3 separate regions of the Homo sapiens genome follow, and all the other regions are linked to region 3. The links are contacts of gene promoters, found by promoter capture Hi-C in blood cells and fetal thymus (Javierre and others, 2016). All regions are on one chromosome and are shown on one strand. The core of a region is centred on a gene start or on the middle of the fragment in contact, and the rest is flanking DNA. Distances in the headings are between cores, read along the strand shown.

Evidence for each region. The method cuts DNA at HindIII sites, captures the fragments that hold promoters and counts their contacts. A CHiCAGO score of 5 or more calls a contact.
Region 1: a contact is called between a fragment that was not itself captured here and the fragment with the promoter of FANCL in region 3, in 1 of 17 cell types (monocytes). The highest score is 5.8, in monocytes.
Region 2: a fragment that was not itself captured here is called in contact with the fragment with the promoter of FANCL in region 3 in 1 of 17 cell types (activated CD4 T cells); the score reaches 5.2 in activated CD4 T cells.

The regions. Positions count from the first base shown.
Region 1 is chr2:58,002,491-58,005,190 of GRCh38, reverse strand. It overlaps a transcript of VRK2 not described here. Among named protein-coding and RNA genes, the nearest start is that of VRK2, 43 kb to the left of the region's middle. The HindIII fragment of the contact is 1,285 bases long and covers 775-2,059 here.
Region 2 is chr2:58,020,151-58,022,850 of GRCh38, reverse strand. It overlaps a transcript of VRK2 not described here. Among named protein-coding and RNA genes, the nearest start is that of VRK2, 25 kb to the left of the region's middle. The HindIII fragment of the contact is 4,178 bases long and covers 1-2,700 here.
Region 3 is chr2:58,240,014-58,242,713 of GRCh38, reverse strand. It overlaps FANCL (FA complementation group L), which reads left to right and starts at 1,389. Exons shown (of 14, transcript NM_018062.4): 1 at 1,389-1,496. The coding sequence starts at 1,401. RefSeq lists an enhancer at 1,042-1,201 and a silencer at 1,742-1,791. The HindIII fragment of the contact is 7,787 bases long and covers 1-2,700 here.

The sequences.
Region 1 (2,700 bases), core at 168-2,667, 240 kb after region 3:
TTTTGCATATAAATCCCTACAGGCTGACCTGGCTAATTATATAGTCATATCATGCAGAATACAATATATTGGACAAAACTTAATATTTTCTAGATGATAATTAAAATTGCAAGCCTTCTTTCTTCATTGCATGAATGTTAACATAATGTTTATACATTTCTTTGCCTTTCAAGTGTGAAATTAGAGTAAATGGGCCACTAACTGGTCCCTGGAAGTAGAATAATGACCAGCTAACTGGACTGTAAGTCTCTACATTCACTGTAACTGCAGAGAATTTGATAGGTGATTATTTAATACAGTTTCAAATGATTTTCCACTATACTGGAAGAACTAGTATATGTCTCAATAATGCCTGATCACCTTCAGGATTTTTTGATATTTCACTAAACAATACATTTATCCTATTTGCCTGTTTTATTGAAAGTACTCAGATAAAATGTTAGGTAGAGAAAAATTACCACATATATGAAAGGGAAATCTGTATTCCTTGTATTGAGTATACTTTTCTTTGGCAGAGGACATAATTTAAAAAGTTAACCATTATTGAGGAATATTAAAGGAATAGATTATTCCATTTTATGAACAAAATCCAAAACAAATGACAAATGGCTGTCCAAGGATGTATTTATTTTATTTTTCTTGAAGCTCAGGTTTAAACTTCTCTATTTCAAACATCACTCATTATTTCAGAATAATGCCTAGATTTGTTTCACAGGCTAAAATCATTGCAATAACAGATTAGAAAACAGTCAATTGCCATTCTAATAAAAAGCTTTTGGTAAGAGGCTCATTTACAAGTCCTGAAAGAAGGAAATAGACTTAGTCACTGAACCACTCAGTAATACATTTTAGAAAAGTCATACAAATCATATCACATCTTCAGAGAATACACAGTGGCTTAGTACCTCTATGGCTTCAAGAACTACCTTGGTAGGAACTATAAAAGCATATTATAGTCCCATAGGTTGTGGTAGGTCAGGATGTGTGTGTTTGTGTGTGTGTGCTGTATGCGTGTATGTATGCGTGAAAGAAAAAGAGACAAAGAGAAAAAAGAGCAAGAGATTGAGAATGAGCAGGAAGAAAAGAAGAGAGTTGATTCTTACTATTAAACACAGGATTCTGAGAAAGAGTCAAAAACTATTAATCTTTGAATTAAAGTAAAGAGAGAAAGCATTTCCTAATATTTGCAAAATGGCAGTCTGGAATTAGGAATGGTATCTATCTGTTCTAAATAGTGCAAGTATAAATTACACTAAGAATTCAATCTATAGGAAGGCCTCAGTGACAAGATTTAACAGTTATAGTAAACAAGTTATAGTAAACAATTATTAGAAAGTTAAAATTTTGTAAATTATTAGAAAACATAATTTTGTGTGAGAAAAATGTATAAATACCAACTGCCTTGATTCAGCCTGGATTAGAATTATAACTGAAATCACAGGCCACAAGACACCATGGTATATGATGAGAAGAAAAGAAGGTTGTAGAAACAATTGCTTTTGAGAATGCAATGCACTGTTTTATGCTAAAATTGCCAGAAAAGGTAGAGGACATCCAGTTAAATTTCAGATAAACTAATTTTATAGTCAAACTATGCTCAAAATATTGCATGGAATATAATTATGCTAAAAATAATTTGCAGTTTTCTGAAATTCAAATTTAACTGTGCATCTTATATTTTTATACGCTAACCCTGGAAACTCTATATTAGACATTAACTGATAATGTAAATAATAGAGATAATATTGATACATATTCATGAATTTTAAAAAACATAAAATAATTTTCCCGGTGGTGCTAAAGCCAGGTGTTTTAAAAACAAAAAAATGTTGCAATGTGATTTTATGTCAGTTGTTATGAAGACCCAAGGAATAAATAATAGTAAGCAGTCAAGATACATTATATGGAACCCATATTTTGTCATTTTAAATTTGAATTTCTGGTTGGATTTTCTTTTTTAAGCAAGAAGGGCAATAAGCCCTCCTGTGATCTGCTTTCTAGTACAAAATATCTGTTACAGAATGTAACATTTACTTAAGGCTTTGATTATTGTAAAGCTTAGTTTATGTATATGTTTGTTATGGTCAATTATCAGGATGGAAATTTTACTTTTTGAGAATATACCTGTTTGAATTTGAGTTTATTTACCTAAATTGTAGTGTACATACTAACACTAGAATCATTAACTAATTTTAGACAATTTAACTTCCAACACTATTGTATATAAGTGGCATGAATTTACTTGATGGGCATCATGACCCTGTGTTGATTTTCTTTCTACAAGTCTGCATGCAAATGATGTATTTTGTGATGTTAGCAGATTAATTTCCAAACACAAAATGAAGCATGCTTTAACAGTTGTAACAGCATTATTCTAATGTCTGAAAAGAGGCATTGTTTCTGTGAAAATACATTTACAAACTTTATATTGTAAAACACCTGTTGAAGATAGCATCAACATTTCCTATGCTCATTTCTACCTTTAAATTTGGACCAATTCTTTTCCCTCGCCTAAAATATTTGTTTCTGAGCTTCCACCTATGCAAATTCAGCTCAGCCTTTAGAGCTTGGATAAAGATATATAACCATATGATTAAAAAAAAATAATCCTCTGCAGTTTCAGCTTATGGTGATCTCTCCATTTTTCTTCATTCTCAAAATAAGTGTGGTCTCCACTACCTATCTTCACACATACTGATT
Region 2 (2,700 bases), core at 23-2,522, 220 kb after region 3:
CAGGCAGAAGTGCAGTGGTGTGATCTTGGCTCACTGCAACCTCTGCCTCCTGGGTTCAAGCAATCCCTCAGTCTCAGCCTCCTGAGTAGCTGGGACTACAGGCAAGGGCCACCATGCTTAGCTAATTTTTGTATTTTTATAGAGATGAAGTTTAGCCATGTTGCCTGGGCTGGTCTCAAACTCCTCTGCTCAAGTGATCTGCCCACCTCGGCCTCCCAAAGTGCTGGGGTTGCAGGCGTGAGCCATCGTGGGCAGCACAGTATATGAATTTCTTACCTCTCATATTCGTTTTGTGACACCATCACAGAATTTCTCAATGACAACATACTCTTTTCCTACATTTGCTCTTTTCCTACTCCCCTCAACTTTTACAAAATCTGCCTTGTTGCTTAAAACACTATACAAAATTTACATTAGAAACATAATGTCTACGTAGCATCAGCACTGTGGCATTCACATTTTCCCACTGTGAACTCTAGGCAATGTATCCATGACTGTCAAGCATTATAGCATTCCATGCTCACTCAATTCACAGGCTGTTCCTGGCGGTTTCACAGAACTTTTCAAGTAATTACTTTCTTTAGTATCAAGGGACTTATAACAACCAAAGAGCATGTTGCTCATCTCAGTCATTGTCTGGGTGCAGTGACACCCATTCTAAAGGCACTGACACTATTTTGTGAGCCTGACCTCATGATTGAGATCACATAATTGCAATAATTAGGAAACTCACCTCAGGATATTATCAAAATGACCCACCCAAACCCAAGTCCATATGGTTTGAAATAGCTAATGAGTCAGTTAATGTGCTATGTCCAGGAGTAATGGGTACTCAATATGGATAGCATGAAGGTATAATTTACCAACGTTCTGACTGATTAAGGGTTTCAAGTGGACATTTTACAACCTAAACAGGGTATGAAGTATTAACACTTTTGATGGTTGAGACAAAAGGAAGAAACAGTGTTTAAAAGTCAGGGACATTGGAACTTGAACAATTTCTTTCAATCATATTTTCCAGGCTTACAAAGTTAATACTATATAAAATGGAATGAAGATGTAGGTTTCGGTAGCCAATTGTGATAATGTGGAAAGGTATGGGGGATGCTACTGGCTGAGTCCTTTGCATAACAGAAAAATAAAGAAAATGCTGAAAATTCAATCCACTGATTTGGGGGTGGGGTGGGGAAAAGAGGGAAAGTTCTATTACAAAGAAAAGATAGAATTAATATTAACAGATGTCTATATGGAAGGGATTCACTGAGTGATTAGATATATTTTTATTTCATGGTAGTATAAACCCAGATAAACGGTCATAGTATTTTTGGCTAATTTGTTGTCTGCAGTATCTTGGAGACAATAAATATTTAGTCCAAGCATACGTATAAATTGGGATTAAGAAAAATTCTAAAGTAATGTTTTAATACTAATTTGAAACCTCTATGATAAAGGTCTGTATTACATTTTTTATTTTGGATATGAAGGGATGTAAGCCCAGTGCATTCTTATACAGAGTGCTTAATTTGGAGTCCATACACACTCAGTGGGTCCCTGGTTAGATGTTAGGAACAATCTGTGAGCTTGGAAAGGAGGGAAAAAAAAATCACATTTTAATTTTTCACTCATTTGTACTGGAATTTAGCATTTCCTGTAATTATATAGCAAATCATTAGGATTAGCATTATGTGTGATTTTTTCCCACAAAAAGTAGTTGAAGATGTTTTCATATCACAATAGAGCTGTTTAGCTCTTCCAAAATATCATTCATATTCATCAGTATTACAAAAGTCTGGCTGATATTAGACCTACTGCCAGGTCTAATATTTAAAAACCAATTTTAACATACTTTGTTTCTTTTATAATTGTATATTTTTAGTTTTATCCATTTTTAAAACATCAAAAACTTATAGAGAATGGGTCCAAACACTCTCCTAGACTATCAAAGGGGTCTATGGCACAATAAAGGTTAAGAACATGTGCTATACTATGCAGTGGATTTATCAAGGTCCAAATGTTTTATACTGGACCAATGGCTTTTAGTTCCAGGTATCAGAATTAACTTGGAGATTTTACTTTATTATTTTAGAAAAAGATAATATGTGCACTTTAAAAAATGTTCAGTTGTACAAAAAGTTATACAATGGAAAGTGTCTCATGCCAGCTCTGTTTCCCAGAAGCATCCACAATTTCTTATGAGCCTGTCTGGAGACATTCATATTTAAGCATATAATACATGCAAATGTTTATGTACATACACTTACATAGAACATGTATTTTTCTGCTTTTAACACAAATAGTAGCATACTTGGCACAATAACCTTCATTTGGCACTTAACAGTATATCTTAGCAGGGCATGGTGCTTTGCACCTGTAATCCCAGTGACTTGGGAGGCTGAGGCAGGAAGACTGCTTGAGGCCAGGAGTTCAAGACCAGCCTTCAAAACATATTGAGACTCTGTCTCTAAAAATATTAAAAAATTAGCCAGACATGGTGGTACACACCTGTAGTCAGAGTTAGGTAGGAGGCTGAGGTGGGAGGATTGCTTGAGGCCAAGAGGCTGCAGTGAGCTGTTATCACACCACTGCCCTCCAGGCCGGGACAACAGAGCAAGACTCTGTCTCTAAAAACAAAACAGTTTATCTTGGCAATTGTTTTATATCATAGAAATAAACTATCCTTTTGTTTTCAGTGGGTAGGTA
Region 3 (2,700 bases), core at 140-2,639:
TTTTAGAAGGAACAGTGGACAGTTGTGGGGAAGTACGGTTGGACAAAGCATGGTCTAATGGTAATAAACTGGGGTAAGTTGTCAAAGGTCTTTTTGTTCAGATTCTTTTCTATGTCTCCGTTTCTTTAGAGATAAGGATATTTCTTTCCTGTGGGTATAGGAAGAGCACCTCTGGATTGAGGATCCAATGACCCGCCTCAGGGAAGAAGGATGGGAGAAGGTCAGAGAGTGATCTTAGGTTTTGTTGTTTTCTCAAATGTCAAGGGGCCATATTTTGGGGTAGCATATCCTGAACCCCATCAGCGGTGAAAACTTGTATTTCTACATAGTTCCCAGGTGATGCTGTTGCTAGGTTCTAGGATCACGTTTTGAGAACCACTGCTTTAATGTAATTTATATCTAACCACTGCTCCAGCATTCTTTTCTGTAAGCATCCAGAATGCTGTGACAAATTCTTGTCAAACTTTAAGAATCTTCAGGATGTCAAATTCTGTCTTGAGGTCAATAAAGATGGGTAGGGGACGAAATAATCTTTGCTCAACCTTTGGCACATTACAATGATGTTTTTCAAATAGTAGGGCTCAAACGTGATGCATTGGAAAATTGGAAAATTGGAAAATCAAATAATCATATGGTAAATATTTTAGTAGGTTTCTTATTTAATCAACTCTTAATAAGATGGGATGGATAACATTCCTGAGTTAGAAAAACATATTGCAAGCGCTGTCAGAGGAAAATTAAGTTCAAGTCCATCAGCAATCTTTACTCATGTTTTGCTTTATATATTTGTGAGTGCCGTACACAGAACTGAGTCCAGTGTTGACTTGAGTCTAATCAATACACATATACGTATACATGTGTGTGCCTCAAATATATCTGATTGAACTTAGTAAGCCACAGAACTGTAATATATATGATATAATCAATGTGTTATACATTATATTACAATAATTATACACAAAATAATACATTATTCTGTATGTTAAGGGAGAGAGGACAACAGCAAAGAAGACAGAGTGCTACAACGTCCAGGCTGTAAAAGTCATTTTATTCTGGAGGAAATGCAACACCAAAGTTGTAACAGTCTTTCAATAAAGTAAAACAGAATCATCGAAAGGGCTCCTGGGACAATTGAGGCTAGAATGATCTTGGTCAGTCAGTCCTGTGGACTTGAGGGCAATCTTCCCTCCCACTACCGGTTGGGGAGCCCTGATGTCGCCTCCCGCAGAGCGCCACTTGGCCTGGCCTGCGCTTCACCTTCATTTCCGCCCGCGGAATCCTCCAGGATCTTCCCGCCAAGGCTGGGGTTTCCGCTCCGCGGCGTCCGAGCGCCAGCGGACTGCGCATGTGCAGGACCCAGCAGGTCTAGAGCTTTTCTGTGTTTCTCCGGACTTCGAGCCATGGCGGTGACGGAAGCGAGCCTGTTGCGCCAGTGCCCCCTGCTTCTGCCCCAGAACCGGTCGAAAACCGTGTATGAGGGATTCATCTCGGCTCAGGTACCCGCCCAGTGGTTGCTTTCTAGCTAAGAGAGCCTCTTGCAGCGTAGCTGCGCGGAGAAGTCTGTGACGGGCTAGGAGGTTAGGGGCCCAGACTTGTGGGGATTGAGAGGGGCGGCGCGTAACGGCTCTTGGGAGACTAAAGGTTTGAGAAGCGCCGCTGTCGCCGCCACCCCGGTGGTCGCCGCGCTGGATGGGGAGCGAGGAGGCGCGCGGCGTGGAGCGGGGCTGGGGCCACGCCTCCTCTCTCCCTAGCCCTTCCCCGAGTTTGGCTTCCTTCTTCGTTCAGTGTCCCGCAATTGACTGTTTTTTAATTTTTTTTTTGTAAATTTTGCCTTAACTCGATTTTAACACCCTCCACCTCCACGGATGTTGATGAGTTCACTCGGGAATCTGGGCTAATTATTTTCGTGTTTCCTGTAGAAAGAACATTTGGGAAGAAAACCTTATTTTGGCCCTTTGCCAAGTCGTATGTACCTGTACACCCACAGTTACAATATCTTCTAGGAGAAGCATGACAGCAATGGAATTAATTAACTTTGCTGATTCCAGTGGCCTCTCATATGGAGTTTATTACACATACTAACACATGTGTAGGGTTTTGAAGTTTACAAAGCGCTTTCCAGGTAAATAGTTCACTTAATCCTCAGCCCTTTGAGGCAGAAATTTTTAAAAGAATCATCATTCCCATTTTCTAGTTGAAGAAATCAAGGTATGGGAAACCGGAGACGTTATTTGCTGATGATCACATCAGAATCCCTTAAACGCAGGCTGTGTGATTTCAGTCCTGGATTTTTTTCTCTTTACATTGCACCAGGATACCTTAGGTTAGGAGTGTAGACTTTTCCTTTCTGACCATTACACTCAACCTTGTGCCCACTTCCCCACCATCACGCATAGTCTTTGAGTATATGTGGAATTACCATATGACCATCACAGAAAGTAGAGGTTAAAAATTCATTATTCCATATGGAAAAAAGTTAATCCACCTTTCCCTCTCCAATTAGAAGTATTCTTCTTGAATTACCTAGCTGAAAATATGATTCTCTTGTAGACAACATTTAGAAAAGTTGAAAAATTTTAAGTTACTTTTTTTTTTTTTTTTTTACAGGAAGCATGTTATACCTAATTTTAGGCAAAATACTGTTATGTATGTCTATATCTGCTAAGGCCTTTTAGGAAACAAGTACACCCATTAGAATTG